2 separate regions of the Homo sapiens genome follow, and region 2 is linked to region 1. The links are contacts of gene promoters, found by promoter capture Hi-C in blood cells and fetal thymus (Javierre and others, 2016). All regions are on one chromosome and are shown on one strand. Each heading gives the region's core, a stretch centred on a gene start or on the middle of the fragment in contact. The rest is flanking DNA. Distances are from core to core; before and after follow the strand shown.

The links. The method cuts DNA at HindIII sites, captures the fragments that hold promoters and counts their contacts. A CHiCAGO score of 5 or more calls a contact.
Region 2: a contact is called between a fragment that was not itself captured here and the fragment with the promoter of LINC00051 in region 1, in 4 of 17 cell types (M0 macrophages, M1 macrophages, M2 macrophages and 1 more). The highest score is 7.9, in M0 macrophages.

Annotation. Positions count from the first base shown.
Region 1 is chr8:142,196,989-142,202,578 of GRCh38, reverse strand. LINC00051 (long intergenic non-protein coding RNA 51) reads right to left here and starts at 4,223. Exons shown (of 3, transcript NR_024378.1): 1 at 4,123-4,223. It overlaps LOC105375792 (a long non-coding RNA gene), which reads left to right and starts at 5,050. Exons shown (of 4, transcript XR_007061194.1): 1 at 5,050-5,590. RefSeq lists enhancers at 58-778, 4,177-4,471. The HindIII fragment of the contact is 4,093 bases long and covers 840-4,932 here.
Region 2 is chr8:141,686,818-141,691,674 of GRCh38, reverse strand. No RefSeq gene overlaps it. Among named protein-coding and RNA genes, the nearest start is that of MIR1302-7, 97 kb to the left of the region's middle. The HindIII fragment of the contact is 268 bases long and covers 3,081-3,348 here.

The DNA.
Region 1 (5,590 bases), core at 2,974-5,473:
TTTGTGCCTTTTGCTTCCCCGTTCAGCTCTTCTGAACCATGACAAGCAGGAGTGAGGCCCCATGGAGGGGGCCCTGCCCTGCCACTCAGGGAGTGCACCCCAGGCCCCCGGTGCTCAGCCTGTTCGACCTCAGCCTCTACACACAGCAGACCAGGACAGGGGCCCCGCTCAGAGGTGGGAGCAGTGCTCTGATCTGCCTGGCAGAGGGCGGAGACGGCGGCTGGAGGGCTCTCAGGGTCAGAGCTGGAGGCCTGGGCATGGGAGGGCAGGGAGAGCCGGGCTGGGGACTCCCGTCATCCACAGTACTTGGCTGATATCACTGTTCAGGTGTTGCCTCCCTGCGGGGAGTCAAATGCCCTGAGGACAGGGGGCCTTTCTTTCCATATGCAGAGCCCAGCCAGGGCCCGGCCTGTGAGAAGCTCAGAGAGAGGGCAGCGTGAGCGGATGTGGTGGACATCTGGGAGCACCCACAGTCCTGGAGCTTGGACCCGCCTGAGATGAGACACCAGGGCTCAGGACTCAGCCTCCAGTCACAGTCCGCCTTCAGTATGTGACCTTGGTCAGAGCTCAGACTGTGACCAGAGCAGGGCTCAGTTTGGGGCCAGAATCATGGCTTAGACTTTGCCTAGGATGAGGCTTGGATTATGACCTGGGTTAGGACTCAGTGTATGGCTATGATCGGGGCTCCGTGTGCGGCCCAGATCAGGGCTCGGGGTGCGGCCCTTAGAGGAAAGGAGATGCCTAGGCCGCTGGAGAACAGAGCTGTCATCCCCTGGGTCCCTTCGCTCCACGCTTTCACCAAGGACCCGATCAAGACCATTAACGGATGCACAGAAGCTTCTGGATCTGCTCAGGCCCCTCTGTGGTGGGAACCCCCCGGCCCCCCTCTCCCTGCTGTGGGTCTCTGTCACTGAGTGGCCCCGTGAGCATCTCTAATGAGCTCCTTCCAGGGGGAGGCTGGGGGGGTGGAGGGGGCCCAATTTATCTCTATTTATGCCTCTCCTTATAGCTCCACCAGCTTCTCAGTAATCTTTATGGGGTTCAATTATTGTATCTTCAATTGATATGAGTGATTTCAATGGTTCTTGATGTTCCGTGTTAAATCTCCAGTGGAAAATATCTTCAACGTTCAGCATAAAACACCTAGTCATTGCCGGCAATGCAGCCACGGAGGCCTCGCCGGGAGATGTGGGCCCGGTTCTGGGTGGCAGGTGAGGTGTCCTCACCCCTGGGCCCACAAATCAGTGTGGGGTGACACCCCCTCCTCCACCCTGGCAGCTAGAGCACCTCATGGTGAGAACTTAGCTTTTATGGGAAAATAGAGCTGGGGCTTGAGGCTGGGAGCGACCCGACATACCGGTTTCCTGTTTCTGTTGTAATAACTAACCACCAACCCGTGACTTCAACCAACAGAAGTTCGTTTCTCACAGCTCCAGAGTCAGAAATCCAGAAGGAGAGTTAGGGGCTCCATCTAGGCGTCGGCAGAGCAGGCTCCTCCCAGAGGCCCCATGGGAGGCTCCCTCCTGGCCTCTGCAGGCTTCTGGAGACCTTCTGCTTTCCTCGAAGCCTCTGTCTCGCAGCCCTTCCCCTCCTCACACCTGTCTCCTGCCTCCCTCTCTTTTTCTTTTTTGAGATTGGGTCTCGCTTTGTCACCCGCGCTTGAATGCAGGGCTGGAGTGCAGTGGTGCCATCATGCTTCACTGCAGCCCCCATCTCCTGGGCTCAGGTGATCCTCCTGCTTCAGCCTCCCGGGTAGCTGAGACTACAGGGGCACGCCACTATGCCCGGCTAATTTTTAATTTTTTTCTGTAGAGACGAGGTCTTGCTATTTTGCCCAGGCTGGCCTTGGCCTCAAGTGACCCTCTCACCTCGGTCTCCCAAAGTGCTGGGATTATAGGCATAAGCCTGGCCACCTGCCTTCCTCTTAAAAGGACCCTTGAAGTGACATTTAGGACCCACCTGGGTCCCCCAGGATTGTCACACATCTCCTGGTCCTTCACATCCGCACATCCCTTTTGCCACGTAGGGGGCATATCCGCAGGGTAAGGTCCATGCATGGTGTGTTTCCATGGTAACATGGTAAGAGGGAAACACGCAAGGACAGGTCCTCACCACGCCTGTGAAAGCCCCAAGGCTGCCCTGATAGTTGCAAGGGGTGCGGCTGCCAACCCTACCTCTTGTGTTTGCATCACTACCATCCTCCCCCAGTAAGAGCAGCTGATGCCCCTGCCCAGCCCACACAGGAACTCCTTGTAAACACACTTTGCTTTGCCGCAGCTTGTATGCATCTTAAAGGAAGTTTCTACTGAGCCGTGTCCCCTCCTCAATGTCGTTCAGTCATGCAACAAACACCTGTGCATACAGAAGGAAACAGAGGTGGGTCAGACACCAGGGACGCTCAGCGGGAGGAGGCCGGTGAGCAAACGCATCTCACAATTCGGCAAACGAAGGCTGCAAGGTGCCTTCCAGGAAGTCTGGACCGTGGACTGAAGGGAGGATGGTGGCAGGGTGGTCTGGAAGTGGCCAGGAGTAGCGGCGACCTCGGCCTGCCTCCAGGTTCTGCCTCTATCTCGTGCCATGGACTGCAGGCAGCCCCACTCAGCAGGACAGGCTGTGCTGATGCTGGCTGTGCAGTCCGGTGGGCTCCGGGATGGGCAGGAGGGAGATGGGCATGGCGAGGAATGTGCAGAAACGGATGAGGGCGGGAGAGTCATGGGTGACCTGGAGTCGGGAGAATAGGCCTGATGAGATGTTTCGAGTGGTGTCAGGCTGGAGCCCTGTGGGAGGCGGGTGGGAATGGGGATACCCTTTTACCTCTGATGAAGGGGCTAGGGCCCTTGGCCAGTCCCAGGGTGAAGGCCTGCCATCGCACAGGGTTACTCGAGGTCTGGATCCTGCATCACAACAGCAGCCCACATCCCACAATAAACAAAGGTGTTGTTATTAGGAGAGCTTGGCATCCCTCGCGGGCTCCGTTTCCTGGGGTTTCACTCTGTGAGTGCAGGAGCTCTTCAAATGTTTTGCCAATTAGACTGAAAGACCCATGAGAGGGCAGATGCCAGGAATCCCCAGGCAGGGACCTGCCCAGAGCCACAGGCCCAGCAGGATGAGAAATGCTGTGGGGGTGAGTTGGGCTGTGGGCTCAGGCCACTGCCAGAAATAAGAGCAGTGGACAGAGGGCAGGTGACCCCATGGAAGTGTGGGCAGCCCAGGGGGTTTGTGGCAACCCAGGGGGGTCAGGCAGCCCAGGGGGGTTGTGGCAGCACCACAGTGAAGCCCAGGCTCCTTTCCTCCTGTTTCTCTGCTGTCCTCGACACACAGCTTCCATCTGTGGCCAAGGTGGCTGCTCTTGCTCCGGCCATCACATCTATCCTCTGGCCAGCAGGGAGGGGAGAATGGACCAGGGTGGCCGGCTCCTTCCTGTTAGCAACTTAGCCCAGAGGCTTCCCTCGTCCCATCCCTCCATCCTACTGGCCATATGTTGGTCCCAGGACTACCCCTGCTGAAGGGTGGCTGGAAAACAGAGTCTTTAGCCAGACAGCCAGAAGCCCTCCAAAACTGGGGGAAAAAATCGCAGGCTCTGCTACACTTAGCTGTTGTTAGTGAGGGAGGCGTCCAGGACGGGCCGAGAGGGCAGGCTGTTAGTGAGGGGGCAGGTGGGAGGTGAGTCTAGAATGTTCTCTGACAGAGTGTCTGGCAGAGTGCCCCCCCTTCCTTGTCAGGCCTTTCCAAGGACCCTTCAGGGAGTGTCCTGGGGTGTCTGGGAGTTTCCAGGTGTACGGGAGGGACACCCTCCGATTCTCACAGTCTATGGAGGGAGCAGCCTCACCCACGTCTCAGCGAAAACCCTCCCTCTGCTCACCCCAGCCACACGGCTGGAACTCCAGCCCACTTCTGCTGCCTGTGAAGTGAGTGAGGGCGTGAGGGCTGAGGGCAGTGGGCAGCTGGAGGCTGGGCTGGGCAGGGGTGGAGGGGTCTGAGGGCCCTCGGGAGAAGGCAGCTTCCGGCCTCGTGGCGCTGGGACCAGGTGGCCTGAGCTAAGTGGGCTGTAGCTGCCGCCCCTCTCTCTGCACTCACCTGGGAGCTGGGGAACCTGGGGGCTGGTCCCTGGCGCTGACTTACCCAACGCACTCGCTCTTGGGAGAAGAGAACCTGGGCCTCAGAGTGGGGCAGCAGCCGGACAGGAGAGAGGCAGGGGCTTGCTGCTGGGGCCATGGGGACTCTCCCCCTTCCTGCCCCAGCCCAGCAGCTGCTAGGGGCAGAGCTGGTGCTCAGAGCCCGCCTTCCCACAGAGCCCTCCAATGAGAGGTCTTGCCCCTCCTCCCTGGGGGCGGGGTCTGGAGAGGGGCGGAGCCTTTCTCCCAACAAGCGAGTCAGAAAGAGGTGCCCAGTTTAGGAGCTGAAGCAGCTGAGTCCCAGGGCCTGACAGTCAACAGGACCCGGTAGCGATGAGGCTGCATTGTTCTGGGTGCACAGTCAGCCTGACAGCCCTGCGCGTGCGAAAGTCGACTCCTTTGGGTGATGGAGGCTGTGGGCTGCCTTCTCCCTGCACTGGGAAGGGGCGAGGCTCCCGGCTACACCAGCTCTGTTGTGGGTTGGGGACACTGCCCCTTCCCGAGCCCAGTGCCTGTGGGACCTACAGTCCTCCCTGAGAATCCTGCAGCCCTTGAGTGACCCCAGCCTGGAGATCAAGGACCTTACCTTGGCACCCAGGCCTGGTATGAGCTCTGACTTCAAAGTCTGAGCGCTCTACCCCCCCGGGGCCACGCACTCTGTCACCCTAAGCGTTCTCCCCCAGCCCCTGCTGTCCTGCAGATGTCCTTGCAAACTCAATTTTCCTTCTGTATGCAATTCTCTTGCACCTCTATTCCATCGGCAAACTCCTGTTAGTGCGTCAAGACAGAATCCTGATGTCTCCTCCTCCAGGAAGCTTTCCCTGGTTGCACTCACTCCCTGCCACCTCCTCTCCTACCCTCCACATGCAGGGGTGGTTGTTGCCTCCCTATAAGCAGCTGCCCTGGCCTTTCTAGGGGTGGCTCCCCACTGGGTTCAGTGCGGCTTGTCCTGTGCAGCCGGGCTGGTCCTCAGGAAATTGATGCTTCCCATCACTCGCCTGTCTTCTTGGAACAACTTCAGGGTTTATTGAATCTGGAAAGAAAGAAGAGCAAAAAAAGGGAACCATGTACATCGCACAAATCAGTTGTTCTGACAGTTTTATTAAATAATGGGGCGGTTCAATCATGTTGTGAAACAAGGCTCTGGGGAGGAGGCAAGAGGCAGGATCTGGGGCTGGAATTTCTGGAAGAAGTCTAGCATCTTCCGGAATTGATCGAGCCTCCTTCATACTGTGGAAGATGTGGGTTCAGACCCAGGCTTTCCACCAGCAGCGGGGTGGCTGGGAGCCTCGCCCTCCCTGCTCCCACCTGCTTGCTTCCCAGAGGGTCAGGTGCTGGTGCTCCAGGCCTGCTTGCTGTGGGAGGGAGTCGCTGAGGAGAGCCAGGGAGCCATGAGAATTCCCTCTTCAGGGCCTTTTCTAGGAGGGCAAGAGGAGGCCGAGGCCCTGAGAGAGCCAATATGGGGTCTGGGCCCT
Region 2 (4,857 bases), core at 1,965-4,464, 510 kb after region 1:
TCACCGAAGGGGGTTTGATCAGAGGTGACATCATCCCTCAAAGAAGGCAGGGTCGCAGCAGAGAGAAGTGAAGGTGAAGACAAGATTCGGGGAAAAGGGGGACTCATGGCCCAGAGTGGGGGACAGAATCCCCTCATGACTTATCCTGTGGCGTCCCCAAGAGGTAAGGGTCAGTGGTGGTTGGAAGTGGCAGCATGGCCACCCACGGCCAACTGGGTATGGCCTGGCTGGGTGTGGTCCTGGTGTGGATGGGGTGTCAGGGCCCTATCCTACCTGAGACACTCCGCTGAGCCAGGTCCCCAGGCCGCTGCCAAGAGCTCAGCTTCCCACGGGCCATGGGCCATGTAGGTGAGGAGTGGCCTGAGGCGTGGGTGTTCCCATGAACTGGGAAGTGCACCATGATCTCTAAGTGACTCTCAGACTCCTCAGGAAACCAGTGCACACGGGAGCAGCTCCAGGACCCTCAGGGTGGCCCCAAGATACCTATAGATTGACCTTGGTGGTCCTTGGATGTGCCAGACAGCCCAGAAAGGCTCCTAGGAGGACCCCCACAAATCAGAGGCTGACCCCACGCATCGACACCTGAGCATCCCCTCAGAGAACAGGAAGCATGGGGGACTCTAACTTCTCACTGAAACCAGGACACAAGTAATCACTACGCTGGAACCAGAGGCACACGGGGGACTTCCAGCAACCCTCTGGAGGGAGAAAGCTAGAGTCTGTAGCCCAGTATCCTGCTGTATCACTAATGTAAAACCTAACTCTACTGCCAGGTGAGCACCAGGGGAAATGCCTTTTACAGGAATATTTGTCACGTAGATGGTTCAACACACACGCACCTGCGAATGCGCCCGCCGTGCTCAGCTCCTTGCTTTCCCTGGCGGCCAACACTTCCCTGCCTGAGTGGATTTATTAGAAGTGCTCACACCTACCCACCAGCCCCACCCACTGAGGAGGGGTCCCTGGGCCAGGAGCGCACAAAGGAGGTGATGCCATCAGCAAGCCTGACTGTTCCTTCCTTGTCATTTATTTTTCACAACTTAAAAATCATGGAGTAATCCAGGGTCATGCAGTAATAATCAACCACAAACTTCTCTCCTGCAGTTGGCCAGGCTTTTGCAAAATATACTCCTGTCTTACAAAAGGTAATGCCAACTGCGCGAGGGAAAACTTGGAAAATAACAAACAGTAAATAAAATAAAGCAAGCTCTGCCTATAACCCCACCATGCAAACAAAACCATTGCTAATATCTGGGGGCATGTCCTTTCATTATTTCTAAAGCGCTATTTTCCTAGCTTTTCCTGAGATGATGGTGATTTCTTGCTGACAGAGTTGGAATCATATTACACTATATTACCTGTTAGGATCACACTTTTTGTTCCCTGCAAGCATTCTCGGTATGTGCTCTTAGCAAACATTATTTTTTAATGGCTGTAATATTCATTCAAGTGGATAACCCACAGTTTACTTAAACATCCCCCATGTTCAAACACTTAGGTTGTTTCTAATTATTTTGCTAAAAATACCTATTTTTTCGTATTTAAGATTACTTCCTCAGGATAGCATCCTAGAAATTAAACTGCCAGTCTAAGGGGGCATTTTTAAGCGTGTGATGCAGGCTGCCAACTGTCTGCTCCTGGGGCAGTCCCTGCCTGCACCCGACACAGCACATGTCAGACATTACCATGTTTTAATGTCTGTTCCCCTTATTAACAAGAATCCGTACTTGGTTTTAATGTGCATTTTCTTTATTACTAGTAAGGGAAGATAACTTTTCCATGTTTATTTCCTAACTGTATTTATGATTCCTGGGAATTGGGCAGCCACATACTTTGACTAATAACCTATCTGAGGTTCTACGTGTTACTTATCAATTTTTAGAAAGTCCTTTTACACGCTGAAGATGTTAACCCCTCGAATGCGGTGTTGGCTGGAAATATATTTTCCATGGGGTAGTGGCTTTTCATTTGTGGCCTTTTCTGTGTTTGTTAAGAGGCAGGAGTTTCCGATTTTTCTATAAGTCAAGCTGTCCGTCTTTCTCTTTGTGATTCCGTCTAACATTTCTCATTTGACAATATCCTCCCCTTTTACGTGTCCATTTTCAGTTCTATTTGGTTCTAGATTTGCGGATCCTGAGCATGTGTTTTCACACCGTCATCTCAAATCCAGGGTTTATCCAGAGGACAGATGATAGACCAATTGTACGCTTTCAGCTTACCGTGGAGGAGGTCACTTGTGATGCGGGCAAAAAGGGGGAAGTGGGGTGGGGAAGTGGCGAGATAAGGTCTCTGGAAAGTGGAATGTCTCCCCCAGCCTGTGACTGATTTTCCCTGCGTGACCTTTCTCCTCCAGTCATCACTTTTGTCTTTGCTTTAAGTCAGAGGTTCTCAATCAAGGACAATTTTGTCCTCCAGGGACATTTGCCAATGTCTGATTGTCACAGCTGGGAGGTGCTGCTGGCATCTAGTGGGCAGAGGTCAGGGAAGCTGTTCAGCATCCCGCAATGCACAGGATACAGGATGGCCCCTGTCCCCAGAGCAAAGAATCACCCAGCTCAAAATAGCAATAGTGTCAAGGGGAAGAAATCCTGCTTTACACTGAATGCTAGCTTCCCTAGATGGATTAGCTAAAATTACACTAAAAAATGATCAAACATGGGTGGGTCTGAGAGGGCTAGTTGTCCTACAATGCCCATTCTCTCCTCCTTTCTTGCGCAGAAAGTTTAGCTGGGCACACATAGAAGAAAGTGGTTACATATCACAATTCTCCTTTCACCCAGGCACAGCCACATGACTGAAGTTCTGGCCAGTGACATGTAAACAGAAGCAAGTGTCCAGGGGCAGTTTTAAAAGTCAGCTGCCACTCACAGCTTGCCTCTCCCTTGCTGCCCCCTAGAATGCAGATGTGATCGTTGGAGCCGAAGCACCCTTTTGCACCTTGAAGTGGCTTTGAGAATGGAGGCCATGCTTGGGGGACCAACAGGGCAAAAGGAGCCTGGTCTCTGAGCTCTCTGTGGAGTAGACCATTTCAGTCCTGGCTGGCCTGCCTCCAGGCTCTATGGAAAAGGGAGAGCGAAGCTTCTTTCTTTTTTAGGCCATTGCTATTTTCAGTCTCTGTGACTTACCACCAAATCTAACTGTCGCAAATGGTGAAATGGGGAATGTTTGTGAAGACTTCTGATAAAATTCCAGCGTGAATTTGAGAGGATTAAATAGAATAAAATGTGCAAATTGCTTAGCTGATCACTTGGTACACAGCAGAACACTTGGTACCCTTGATACATTTAATAGTAAACTGGCTGAGTTATTGTGAGCCCCACCATGTGATGGGCATTACACCAACAAGCTTATACCCCATGTTTTAATCCCCCCAGCAACCTATGAAGGTGGTGCATTGTGGTCCCTGATAGGGATGGGGTAACAGAAATACAGAGACTACTCTCAACTTGCCACCATCGCACTGTCAGGGCAAAGCCAGGCCTAGTCCCTGCACTGTGCCACCTCCACCTCAGCAGACATTGGGGACTGCATGGTTTGGAGGCATTTGGGATCCAGCAACTATGAACAAAACTCTTTGCCTGAAGATCTTGCTTCATCCCAAAACTGTGAGCTTTTTGTTGCAGCCCAAAAGGGCTGCTTCAGCTCCAACCATCACATCTGCATTCCAGAATGCATCTCCAACCCTGTGAGATACCCACTGTGGCATTTGTCTTGCCACAAGAAACCTGAGTCACAAGGAGGCTAAGTGACTTATCCACTATCACACCACGAGTGGCAGAGCTGAAGCTCAAATCCAGGTGGATTTGATATCAGAGTCCATGTACTTAGTGACGTGGCCAAACTGCCTTTCAATAAATACAGCTGAATGAAGGCAGAGAGCACACAAACGAATGCCAGCTGTGGCTATGATGCCACTGAGTATCAGGATTAAGTACCCACCATGCACTGACTCACTCAAACTCACAGCAATTCTTGATCCAAAGATAAGGACATGGAGGATCAAAGAGGTCCGGAGACCAGCCTGAGGTCACTCAGCCAGGAAGTGTGGGGCCTGGATGAAGAGCAGATCTGGGGTAGGGGATGCTGTTCCCCTGCCCCTCCTGCCTCCTCATGGGCCATGTGGCCACAGTTCCCAAACTGGCGTGGATGATTCCTTGGCCAGGAATCCTCTTCTAGTTGGCAAGATGCTCTGGTGTGAGGCAGGCAGGGACCCAGGCACAGCCCTGGTGTCTTATGTTACCCGCCTCCATCCCTGACATCAACAGGGACTCACGCTTTGCAAAAGGGGCATACAGCTGGTACCCCTTGGAGCTGAAACAGGCTCTGTGTGTGGTGGGCCTGCAGTCGCTGCTGCAGAAAGTGAGAAATTGAACACATTTCTTGCTAATGCAGACAGAGCCGCCCATTTAATGTTGGAGAAGCCCTGAGAATTGGGGAGGGCAGGGAAGACCTCCTGAAGGAGAGGAGGTTTGACTCTACTACCTGCAGAGGGGACTGGGGCTGCCCACAGGAGGCCAGAGGCTCTGAGCCCTGATTCTGGGATTCCAGCTTCCTGAGAGGCAAGCTGACTTCCCCGGCCCTGAGGAGTGGGGGTGAGGGGTTGGGATAGGTGAGCCCCATCCCTCCGGAACCGCTGCCAGCTCACTCAGGTCGTTAGCACCTAAAGAGGGTGTAAAAGTGACTTATGAGCAGAAATCAGGTGTTCAGGCATAAACACACCAAGGCCAGTGATTGATTTGACTGGGTAAATAGCTTTTATAATTGGTATTTTTTATTAAATTTTAAGTGATGCATATTTATGTGAGAGCATCGTGGGCACATAGGGACCGGCCTCGCCCGGCCTTCCTGCTGGCAGAG